Linked DNA regions of Homo sapiens: regions 2, 3 and 4 are each linked to region 1. Evidence: promoter capture Hi-C in 16 types of primary human blood cells and fetal thymus (Javierre and others, 2016). All regions are on one chromosome and are shown on one strand. The core of a region is centred on a gene start or on the middle of the fragment in contact, and the rest is flanking DNA. Distances in the headings are between cores, read along the strand shown.

Region 1 (2,926 bases), core at 34-2,533:
TAGATTCTCAGGGAATACAGATAGAGGGAGAATTCGGTTTGTTTTCTGGGGCAGGGATCCAGGACATTGCACAGGGAGGGGCAGAGAAGGGGTGGGTGGGTGGTGGACCGGAACTCTGCAGTGGGCAGGGCTCTCGTCCCCACGGGGATATTCCCCCTTGGGAACCAAGGAGCTGCCCCAGTGAAGTAAATGCAGATGATTAGGTGGGGAGGTACGGCCCCCACCTCATGTCAGGAACTGGTGGGTATCCCAACACGGCTAGGGTCGCGCGTGCAAAGTCCAAGCATGTGCTTGGAGGGTGCTGTGAAGGCATGGGCCGAGGCACGGTGTATGTGCATAAGGCATGTGAAGGTAGGATGGTACTGGAAGGAGTGTGGAGGAACAGGAGGTGCCAGGGGAGTGTATGGAAGGGTGCAGTGCCCGGGACCCCCTTGCGAGGGGGCGCACTCACAAGAGGGACTGGATGGAGCGGTTGGTCCGCAGAGCCTCAGCCAGCTGCTTGATGCGGCTGGGGCTGGACACGACGCCCAGGTTAAGGTTGAGCTGCGCCAGGGACGTGGCCCCGGCCAGGGCCCGGCAGATGCGGCCAAAGTCGCGGTCGCAGAGGCGGCAGCCGCGCAGTGAGAGCAGGCGCACGGCGTTGTCGCGAAGGCCGCGGCAGATGTCCCGCACCTCGGCGCCGGACAGCGGCTCCCCCGAAATCTGGATGGAGCTGGGCAGCATCGTGCCCACGGCTGGGCCTCCGGGTACGGGGCCGGAACGGAGGTTGGTGGGGCCGCGGGCGGGGCCGGGGATAGGGCCGGGGTCGGGGCCCCGGCAGGGGTCGCGGGCGGAGTGGGGCCGGGGGTGGAGGCGGCGGCTGTGGCGGAGGCTGCGGCTGCGGCGGAGGCTGCGGCGGGGGCGGAGAAGAGCTACCGGGACTGAGCCGGAGCCGGCCAGAGGTGCGGAGGCGTCCAGGGCGCGGGCCGGGCTGAAGTGGGGCGGCGCTGGGGCGGGGGCGGCCCGCACGGTCCGTGTCTGGGCGTTGGGGCGGGTGCGCGTTCCGGGGGTTGGGCAGGCGCTGCTCGGCGCTTGTCCTTGTCCCTCGCGGTCGCGGCGGCGGCGGCGGCAGCGGCAGCGAGCGGCTCAAGGGCTTCGGCTTACCGGTCTCGGCTAGGAGGCCGTACCCGCTCCCTCCTTCTCTGCCGCCCGGCTCCCCCCGACCACCCCGCGGGCCTGGCCGCACGGCTGGCAGAGAGAGCCTGAGGCGGGCGGCTGGCGGCAGCTCCGGCTCCAGCTCCAGAGAGCGAGCGGGCGGCGAGTTCCCATGGCAACGGCCGCGTCACCGGCGCTCGCCCCGCCCCCTGCCCGGCCAAGGCCACGCCGGCCCGCGAGGTTCGCGTACACTGGGTGGTTCGGGGCAAGGAGCTGGGAGCGATAGGCCGCTCTTCCCTTGGGAGTGGGGTCAGCCAACTGGCAGGCGGCAGGCGGCAGGGCTGAGTGGGTAGGGCTGACGGGGAGCGGAATGGAGGCACGCCCCGTGGAGATGGCGTTGGGCACGGTTACTGCTGCTTCTGCCCATTCTTCCATCCTTCCCCGTTCCTAAGGTCCATACCCCCGCCGGAATCCAGGGCACTGTTCCCTCCTATTTGGAAGGCCCCAGGGCCCTTTCATCCGCGCCGCGCCTCGCTCCCGCCCCCGTGACTCGAGGCGCAGCGTGCGTGGTGATCCCGGCCCATGGGGACTTCCCCGCTTGCTCCTCGCCAAGATGGCGGCCTCATCAGGGAGGCCCCAGGGGCCACGGCTGGGCAGAGCCAGCTTGAGCTGCTGGGGAGAAGGGTACCCCATAGGGTCCCTAGGGCAGGGGAGCCTCAGATAGATGCAAGGTCCTGGTGCCACACCTTCTCAGGTACGCAGGGCACTGTTGACATCTGAGGGTGTGTCCGTGCCGCGAGACTGGGGCAGCCAATACAAAGAAGGTGCCAGGGCCAGGGCCCTGGAGCACTGGTGAGGACGTGAAGGCGGCTGAGCCACACTGCACGGTGCAGGCGGTGCTGTCTCAACTTTGTCCTCTGGCCAGGGTGGTGGGGGACTCACTTGTGTAACGCAGGACAAATGAAGGGCACCTCTGTTTGTCCCTTTGTTAGGAGGGATAGATGCTGCTGACCCAGATTTACTAGTGTTAAGATGATTATTTTACATAAAATATAATATTCAATATAGTGAAGGGAGGTCAAAGGCCCTATTCCCACTCTTAGCCACCTGAATTAACTTATTAAGTGGAGCATATTAAAGAGGTGGTGGGGGTGGATGGTGCTATGTTAGGAGTGGTGGTTGGTTTTAAGAGGAAAGACAGAAAAACTAAAAGGAGCTGGCCCCAGTACCACCAAGGCAAAGCCAAATTTGGCTTCAATTAAGAGCTCCACAGGAAAATTATCAACACAATGCCCAGGTGCAGAAGATCCTTGTTTTGACACGGGGTTTAAGTCGGGATGTTTTGTTCAATTGTCACTGCTTCCTTGGCTTCCCAAGAGAGCAGCTGAGCCCAGACTCAAGCTGGCTGCAGTGTTCCATCAGGCTTATGGCTTTTGTGCTTGAGGCCTCCCTGCCGCTTCATGGGTCAGGTGTGATATTCAATCACTGCCTTCTATGTAGTCTGGCCTGTCCCACCTTTATCTTGCCTGGGTGAGGATATGAAGAAGGGAACATATGACATTACCACTGTTGACTGAGTAGGAAAGTATATAGGAAGCGGGATGACAGGGAGGACCACTGGATCAGCCGCTGCAGTTCCAGACTTCAATCAACATTTTAATTACCAAGTCTATATTTAGCAAGACAATGTGGGAGAGATAAAGAGGAAGGAAGGGGTAGGTGGGGAGGGGTTCTCAAAGGAGCTGACCCATTTTCTGCATTGGCTGCAGAGCCTTGCAGTCCTGGCCAGGAG
Region 2 (2,700 bases), core at 144-2,643, 190 kb before region 1:
AGTAATTCTCCTGCCCCAGCCTCCCTAGTAGCTGGGATTACAGGAGTGTGCCACCATGCCCGGCTAATTTTTGTATTTTTAGTAGAGACAAGGTTTCACCATGTTGGCCAGGCTGGTCTTGGACTTTTGACTTCAAGTGATCCACTCACCTTGGCCTCTCAAAGTGCTGGGATTACAGACATGAGCCACCACCCAGCCCATCATCTTTATTATTGATAAAGGACAGGTTGTAGTTTAGAAAGTGAAATAAATATGGTAACTTCCTGCCTACCTCCTCCACTCCAATCTGGGCTTTGTCTGCCCCCTTAGTCTGTGAGATCCATGAGAGCAGGGACCAGGCTGCTTTGCCAACCATTGCATATATTTCCAGTGCCTTGCTCAAATCTCTGGCACATAGTGCTCAACAAATACTTGCTGGTGAATGAATGTTACATGTTATATACAAGTCCCCCTGAGTGTGATAGATGAGTGCTAGTGAGAGATGTGGGAATAAGAGGGGACTGGTAGAGGTTGAGAGTTGGTAACAACGAGTGTCCTGGAGTGAAGGAAGTTCAGCTGCCTAGGAATAAGGTCTCAGGAATTTGTTTCCTTTTTTCCTTCAAGAGACAGGATCTTGCTCTGTCACCCAGGCTGGAGTACAGGTCACAGCTCACTGTAACCTGGAACTCCTGGGCTCAAGCAATCCCCCCATCAGTCTCCTAAGTAGCTAGGACTACAGCCATGTGCCACTGTACCTCGCTAATTTTTTATTTTTTGTAGAGATGGGGTTCCACTACGTTGCCCAGGCTAGTCTTGAACTCCTGGCCTGAAAAGATCCTCCTGCCTTGGCTTCCCAAAGCGCTGTGAGTCACTGTGCCCCGCCAGGAGTTTTGTTTCTCAATATACATGAGGATCAACATGTATGATACAAAACAGAAAATATAACTTAACTGATCCTGATTATAAATAGTAGGTAACTAATTAAGTAAATAGAGAACTGAAAATTTGCTTTTGGTAGCAAACAAGTCCCACCAATTGTAGTCATTCATAAGAACTTACTAATTAAGCTTAATTAGCATGTGGCACAATTATGTCTATCATTAATTATGTGGCAAATAAGAGAATGTGGGGAAGTGTTATGTAAACTATAAAGCAACCTTATAAATAAGGCTGCTATTATGTGTCAGGTTAGCTTTGCAGTGAATTTGATTACAACAACAAACTCCACCCATTTATGTCTTTGTAGGCTTGTTCAAGTACATGGTCATATGCCTGTGACTTTTTTTTTTTTTTGAGACAGAGACACACCCTGTAACCCAGGCTGGAGTGCAATGGCGTGATCTTGGCTGGCTGCAACCTCTGCCTCCCGGGTTCAAGCAATTCTCCTGCCTCAGCCTCCCAAGTAGCTGGGATTACAGGCATGCACCACCATGCCTGGCTAATTTTTTGTATCTTTAGTACAGATGGGGTTTCACTTTGTTGGCCAGGCTGGTCTTGAACTCCTGACCTTGTGATCTGCCCACCTTGACCTCCCAAAGTGCTGGGATTACAGGCGTGAGCCACTGTGCCCGGCCATGCCTGTGACTTTTAAGGCATTACCCAGAACTTTGTTCTTAGATAACTCTTTTGAAAGGGAAATCACTCAGTTCTGGTAAGTTAATGAAAAATCAGTCTTATTTCTTTATAGTTGTGTTTCTTAATCCTTACTACCCATAAACCTTTTGCTTTCTCATTGCATCTTCTGCATGTCTGCTCCAACTACAAAGCTTTACTTTCTGTAGTTTATATTACTTTTTAAAAAGGGAAACACACACAAAACAAAAAAAGACTGAATTTGCTTTCTTAAAACATACTAATCACCCCACCCACAGAGAACTGCTGCTGTATAGTTATAAACATCATTTATGGCTCTAGCAAGAGTCTGTTTAATTTTTTTCCCCCTCATTTTCCAGCATCATCTTGCCATTACATGAACCTGTTGAGAGTACTCTGTATAAAGCTAATAGTGGTTAGCTGCTTAGGGATATTGAGTAGGCTACATTTTGTGATTCAGTGGCATCAACTAGACTAATTCAGAATCAAGACTGCAGGAAAGGACACCCTAAACCTTTGCCATGAGTGCCTTCAACCTATGTTTGCGAAGAAATCAATAACATCTTTAAACGATGGTTTTTCATGCAAAGATGGATTTGGCTTTTCAAGTATTCACTTAGAAATGTGTATTTCATCTGAAAATATATAAAAATAACTACCTACAAATAATTTGCAGCATGAAAAATGTATCCATATGCTGGAAACTGAGGAGGAATAGAAAGAAGTGAAACTTGGTAGTCAGCTTGCTTATAAATCTGATAGATGGTGGCAATGCTCCGTGGAGTTGGCGTAAAGTCCTAGTAACTTCCTCATCTTCATGCTAAGGTCTGGAGGGTAATTTTTAAATAATATACAAAAATAGTCCTTACAGGTCATGAGACTATGTTAATGCTATGTTAATGAGGCTAAAACAGTTTAATCTTGTGATTCATACAAATGCAAATGCTTACCTTTCCATAGAGGAGTCTTTCATTTCCTCTATGAAGCTCAAGGTCACAGAATCAGGAGTCAAATTCCACCCTCTTCCCAAATCCAAAATGATTGGGCTTTTCCTCTTCTTCTCCTGGGCTTTTGGAACAGGCAGAGCTATAAAGCGCTTATTTGTAATTTCTACCCTCCTATTACCAA
Region 3 (2,955 bases), core at 166-2,665, 210 kb before region 1:
GGGATGTGACCCTCTTAGATTTGTGTTTAAATGTTCACTGTGGCCAGTGTATGGAGAATGGGTTGAAAGGGGTGAGACTGGAGACAGGGAGGGTTAGCTTATTTTAACCCTCCTGTAAGCTCCCTAAGGGTAGGGACCGTGTCTGAGGCATCTATGTACCCTCTAGAATGGCGAGGATGCACTAGAGACTCAAACATTTCTTCTCATTGTCACCCCCTGTCACTGCCACCACCATTAGCTGCCTCTTGCTTCACTCCATGGCTGTCAGCACCCCCATTAACACACGCCATGCCATCGATTTAGCTCCTTTCCCAGCGCTTTCTCAGGGATCCCAGCCTGGAGCAGACTGGGACATCACCAGCTCAGCAGCTTAGGTCAAAAGTGAGATTCCTGGTCTGGAGTCAGGGGACCTGGTCTTTTCTTCAGCTCTGCTGCTGAGTCATTGTGTGACCCCAGCAGGTCCCCTCCCTGTCTTTAGTTTTCTGACCTGTTCAAAGTAGGAGCTGGATTAAACCAGTGGGTCTGCCAGCTAAGTGTTTGGAGAATCAGATGAGAATAAACCAGACATTGCTGGTTTCTGCTGTACTTTTGCTGCAGGGACCATGATTGAGAATTGAGTGGGAGGGTCAGATTGAACATTTGAGTCTTAGGTATTGCATGTACCTTTGACAAGACCTTGGTAACTCCCCCTCCCCCATTCCCTACCCCTCCAAAAGGTAATCTTAGGCATTGCAGGTACCTTGGCAACATGTCCCCCGCCATTCCCTATCCCTCCAAAAGGTAATTTAGGAAGCTGCTGGAAATAGGGGAATGGGACAGGCAGTTGGAACCATATGTATGGGGAGAGTCCCTGAGTGAAGTGGGAATGGGATGAGCCTGGGATCCTCAGAGACATCAAGTTGCCCGGTGTGATCACAGGTGTGTCTTAGGCCAGGGCATCAGCTCCCAGCAGGGGAGAGGGATGCGAGGAGGCCTCATGGCTCAGCAGAAAGAAACCTGGTTAGGATCCAGCTTTCAGTCCTGAATCCTGGGCTGTCGGCCAGGCCATGGCTGTAGCTGCAAATAGGCAAGGCTGACCTAAGGTCTCACAGGACAAAGGGCACCCTGGGAGAGCTGGCCCCAGGCCCCAGGGGCCTCCTCTTCTTAGGGATCCTGGGAGCTCTGCTGACCAAGGGGCTAGGGGCTCACCTCCTATGCCATCACCCAGCTACCTCATCATGGTAGCCTTGGTCCCTGAACACTAATGGGTAAGCCCCAGAGCCACGAGCCAGTGACCTCTGAATGGATGGCTTCCCCTTCCCCCAGGCACCAGGCAAGACAGGTAGAGGTCCCTGGAGACCTGATGGCTGGGGAGGGCCCAGTCCTGGGCCAGCCCCTGAGGGCTGGATTCTGGCTGCAGGCTCTCCAGTCCATCCACTCCCACCTCCAGAGTCCAAGGGTCTATGTGGTGGGCAGTTTGAGCTGGCTGGATACTAGAGGGAGGCTGCACCTGAAGCATTTGGTGGGTGAGCAGCATGGGCTTTGAGGAGCTGCTGGAGCAGGTGGGCGGCTTTGGGCCCTTCCAACTGCGGAATGTGGCACTGCTGGCCCTGCCCCGAGTGCTGCTACCACTGCACTTCCTCCTGCCCATCTTCCTGGCTGCCGTGCCTGCCCACCGATGTGCCCTGCCGGGTGCCCCTGCCAACTTCAGCCATCAGGATGTGTGGCTGGAGGCCCATCTTCCCCGGGAGCCTGATGGCACGCTCAGCTCCTGCCTCCGCTTTGCCTATCCCCAGGCTCTCCCCAACACCACGTTGGGGGAAGAAAGGCAGAGCCGTGGGGAGCTGGAGGATGAACCTGCCACAGTGCCCTGCTCTCAGGGCTGGGAGTACGACCACTCAGAATTCTCCTCTACCATTGCAACTGAGGTACTTAAGCCCAGAAGTTGAGAGACATGTGAGAGGGATGGGCCTGCCATTGCCTTGGGTGGTTACTGTGTAGGCATTAGATGTATTACTTTACCTCTTAAAGTCTCAGTTTACCAATCTGTAGATGGGGGCTATGAATATAAGGCACTTTTAGTTCATGGCTTGTAGTAACAGGATCCTACACAAGAACTGTTATCATCATCATTAATTGGGAGGTGATTAAGGCAGGGAAGGGCTAAAGTGGCTTCAGGGAGTTGAGACAAAGAGCTGAGAAGGCAATTTCTGCAGCAAGAGGTGGAGAAACAATAGAGGCCTTCTTTTCTCCCTTCCTCTTTTCCAGTCCCAGGTCGGTATTTACATAATCCATCTGGAGGTGGAATGTCGGTGGAGGCAGTCTCCCTGGGAGGCAGCAGGTCGAGGCCTTCCTTGGGAAGAAGCTGAGGCTGCAGGACTGGGGAGGGACAAAGTTTCCTATTCCCCAAGCTGGCGTGAATCGTTGGGAGGTTTATTATCTGGCATGGAGGTACCAGAATGGCAGAGTTCGCCTCAGAAGGCTCCAGGGTCTGGAGAGGAGGAGCTGGTGCCTGCTGGAGAGGGGCTGATGTTCATAGGAGGTCCCTTTCTGCCTGTCCTTGCAGTGGGATCTGGTGTGTGAGCAGAAAGGTCTGAACAGAGCTGCGTCCACTTTCTTCTTCGCCGGTGTGCTGGTGGGGGCTGTGGCCTTTGGATATCTGTCCGACAGGTGGGGTGAGGCACTGGGCCAATAAGAAACTGGCTGGGGGAACTTTCTCCCACTAGCTGGGGTATGAGCCTAGTCTACCTATGCCTTAGAACCTCCTTCCACAGGGAACTGACCCTGCATGACCCCTTTGCAGGTTTGGGCGGCGGCGTCTGCTGCTGGTAGCCTACGTGAGTACCCTGGTGCTGGGCCTGGCATCTGCAGCCTCCGTCAGCTATGTAATGTTTGCCATCACCCGCACCCTTACTGGCTCAGCCCTGGCTGGTTTTACCATCATCGTGATGCCACTGGGTGAGGCAGGCAAGAAAC
Region 4 (2,747 bases), core at 187-2,686, 150 kb before region 1:
ATTGTCTTTTAAAAAGTTAATAATTTTTTTTAAATAAATAGCTCCATGAATGGAACATTAAATGTGCAAATTACTTTGATGAACAGGAGAAATCAACCTAACATCCACAAGTCTTTAGAAGCCAAGTGTTTTAGAATTTTTCACATTACCTTTCATGTTCCCTTTTGAGTAGAATTACAGTCCTACATACAGGGCTGCTAAGGTGAAGACACTAAAACCCAACTTGGCTATCATCCAAACCTGATATAAAACTTAACAGATTCAATAAAGGAAGAGAAAGACTACTAGAGTCTCAGAAAAAAAATAAACAAACATCTGGCCAGGCATGGTGGCTCATGCCTGCAATCCCATCACTTTGGGAGGCTGAGGCAGGAGGGTCACTTGAGCTCAGGAGTTTGAAACCAGCCTAGGCAACACAGTGAGAACCCCATCTCTACAAAAATTTGAAAAATTAGCTGGGCGTCGGGTGGTGTGTGCCTGTATTCCTAGCTACTTGGGAGGCTGAGGCAGGAGAATCACTTGAACCCAGGAGTTAGAGGCTACACTAAGCTATGATCGTGCCACTGCACTCCAGCCTGGGTGACAAGAGTGAGACCCTGTCTCTTAAAAATAAATTTAAAAGGGGCCAGGCGCGGTGGCTCACACCTGTAATCCCAGCACTTTGGGAGGCCAAGGTGGACGGATCACGAGGTCAGTTCGAGACCAGCCTGGCCAAAGAAACCGCATCTCTACTAAAAATACAAAAAATTAGCCTGGCATGGTAGTCCGCACCTGTAATCCCAGCTACTCAGGAGGCTGAGGCAGGAGAATTGCTAGAACCTGGGAGGCGGAGGTTGCAGTGAGCCGAGATTGCAGCATTGCACTCCAGCCAGGCAACAGTGCAAGACTCTGTCTCAAAAAATAAATAAATAAAAATAAAAAAATAAATGAATTTTTAAAAAATAAACATCTACATACACGTCTTTTTTTTTTTTTTTTTTTTTTTGAGACAGAGTCTTGTTCTGTGCAGTGGCACAATCTGGGCTCACTGCAAACTCTGCCTCCCAGGTTCAAGCTTCTCCTGCCTCAGCCTCTGGAGTAGCTAAGACTACAGGCATGCGCCACCACTGGGTAATTTTTGTATTTTTGGTAGAGACAGGATCTCATCATGTTGGCCAGGATGGTCTCGAACTCCTGACCTCAAGTGATTGGCCCACCTCAGCCTCCCAAAGTGCTGGGATTACAGGTATGAGCCACTGCGCCAGGCCCAAACATCTACATACAAAGGATATAAATGGCCTGTATCATTGGTTGAAGACTAGACTCACTGTCAGGAGACAACCTGAGTATGCCAATGGTCCTGTGGCCTGGTTTTAGTGGACAGTAATTATCCACACAAACCATACTGAACAAAAGGGAAAGAAGAGAAATGTGTAGGGGGCAACAGTATTTTTTAAATGGCCTTGTATCTTTGTTTAGAACCTTAATCTCACTTTCTCTAAAGTAGACCTGTGCCTCTGAAACACATGATTCTACAAAGAAGACTGCTGCCCCAAACTCCTTAAGAGGAAAAATTTTAATTTTTGTAATTTAAAAATATAATTAGTTCTATCTGAAGCACATGTGCATAACAAAGTTTATGCAAAGGGGAAGTGACATCCTAGGCCTAAGAAGAACTGCTGAAGCTAACTCAAAACCTCAGCAAAGAATGAAGACAATCACACTATGTACCACCTACCCAGACTACCTACTCAATAATTTCCCCAAACAGAAGCAGCCAGAAGAGCAAGGGCTATTGCCTCAATTAAGTGATACAGTCACATATCTTGAAGCCCTTTAGAAGCTTCAATGTTATATGACATAAGACTATTTTGCCTTGCTTCTTCTCTGAGAAAACACCAAATGGCAGATGATGTCGGTGGAGGGGGTGGGGCGGGGGCAGAGGCCCCGGGGGCCCTGGGATGGGAAACCGTGGTGGCTTCCATGGAGGGGCTGGGGTTGCAGCTGTGGACAGGGCTGAGGCCACGGAGCTCGTGGAGGCAAGGCCAAGGATAAGGAGTGGATGCCTGTCACCAAGCTGGGCTGCTTGGTTAAGGACATAAAGATCAAGTCCCTGGAGAACTACCTCTTCTTCCTGCCCATCAAGGAATCTGAGATCACTGACTTTTTCCTGGGGGCCTCTCTCAAGGATGAGGTGTTGAAGATTATGCCAGTGCAGAAGCAGACCCACACTGGCCAGTTGAAAAGGTTCAAGGCGTTTGTTGCCATCGGGGACTACAATGGCCACGTCGGTCTGGGTGTTAAGTGCTCCAAGGAGGTGGCCACTGCCACCTGCGGGGCCATCATCCTGGCCAAGCTCTCCATTCTCCCTGTGCACAGAGGCTACTGGGGGAACAAGATCCACAAGCCCCACACCGTTCCTTGCAAGGTGACAGGCTACTGCGGCTCTGTGCTGGTGCACCTCATCCCTGCGCCCAAGGGCACTGGCATCGTCTCAGCCCGTGCCCAAGAAGCTGCTCATGATGGCTGGTATTGATGACTGCTACACCTCAGCCAGGGGCTGCACTGCCACCCTGGGCAACTTCGCCAAGGCCACCTTTGATGCCATCTCTAAGACCTACAGCTACCTGACCCCCGACCTCTGGAAGGAGACAGGATTCACCAAGTCTCCCTATCAGGAATTCACTGACCACCTCATCAAGACACACACCAGAGTCTCTGTGCAGAGGACGTAGGCTCCAGCTGTGGCTACAACATAGGGTTTTTAT

Evidence for each region. The method cuts DNA at HindIII sites, captures the fragments that hold promoters and counts their contacts. A CHiCAGO score of 5 or more calls a contact.
Region 2: a contact is called between a fragment that was not itself captured here and the fragment with the promoter of LRRC73 in region 1, in 2 of 17 cell types (endothelial precursors and naive B cells). The highest score is 5.5, in endothelial precursors.
Region 3: the fragment with the promoter of SLC22A7 here is called in contact with the fragment with the promoter of LRRC73 in region 1 in 1 of 17 cell types (endothelial precursors); the score reaches 5.5 in endothelial precursors.
Region 4: a contact is called between a fragment that was not itself captured here and the fragment with the promoter of LRRC73 in region 1, in 1 of 17 cell types (endothelial precursors). The highest score is 5.3, in endothelial precursors.

What each region holds. Positions count from the first base shown.
Region 1 is chr6:43,509,063-43,511,988 of GRCh38, forward strand. LRRC73 (leucine rich repeat containing 73) reads right to left here and starts at 1,284. Exons shown (of 6, transcript NM_001012974.4): 1 at 452-1,284. The coding sequence starts at 723. YIPF3 (Yip1 domain family member 3) reads right to left here. Exons shown (of 9, transcript NM_015388.4): 9 at 2,770-2,926. RefSeq lists silencers at 862-1,131, 1,152-1,441. The HindIII fragment of the contact is 9,076 bases long and covers 1-2,926 here.
Region 2 is chr6:43,315,780-43,318,479 of GRCh38, forward strand. No RefSeq gene overlaps it. Among named protein-coding and RNA genes, the nearest start is that of CRIP3, 8.3 kb to the left of the region's middle. The HindIII fragment of the contact is 699 bases long and covers 1,045-1,743 here.
Region 3 is chr6:43,296,845-43,299,799 of GRCh38, forward strand. It overlaps SLC22A7 (solute carrier family 22 member 7), which reads left to right and starts at 1,416. Exons shown (of 11, transcript NM_153320.2): 1 at 1,416-1,907; 2 at 2,248-2,253; 3 at 2,546-2,649; 4 at 2,783-2,937. The coding sequence starts at 1,515. LOC124901319 (a long non-coding RNA gene) reads right to left here. Exons shown (of 2, transcript XR_007059582.1): 2 at 2,098-2,955. The HindIII fragment of the contact is 22,683 bases long and covers 1-2,955 here.
Region 4 is chr6:43,361,557-43,364,303 of GRCh38, forward strand. The region is part of intron 2 of ZNF318 (zinc finger protein 318); the gene reads right to left. It also overlaps the pseudogene RPS2P28. Among named protein-coding and RNA genes, the nearest start is that of ZNF318, 6.7 kb to the right of the region's middle. The HindIII fragment of the contact is 768 bases long and covers 1,053-1,820 here.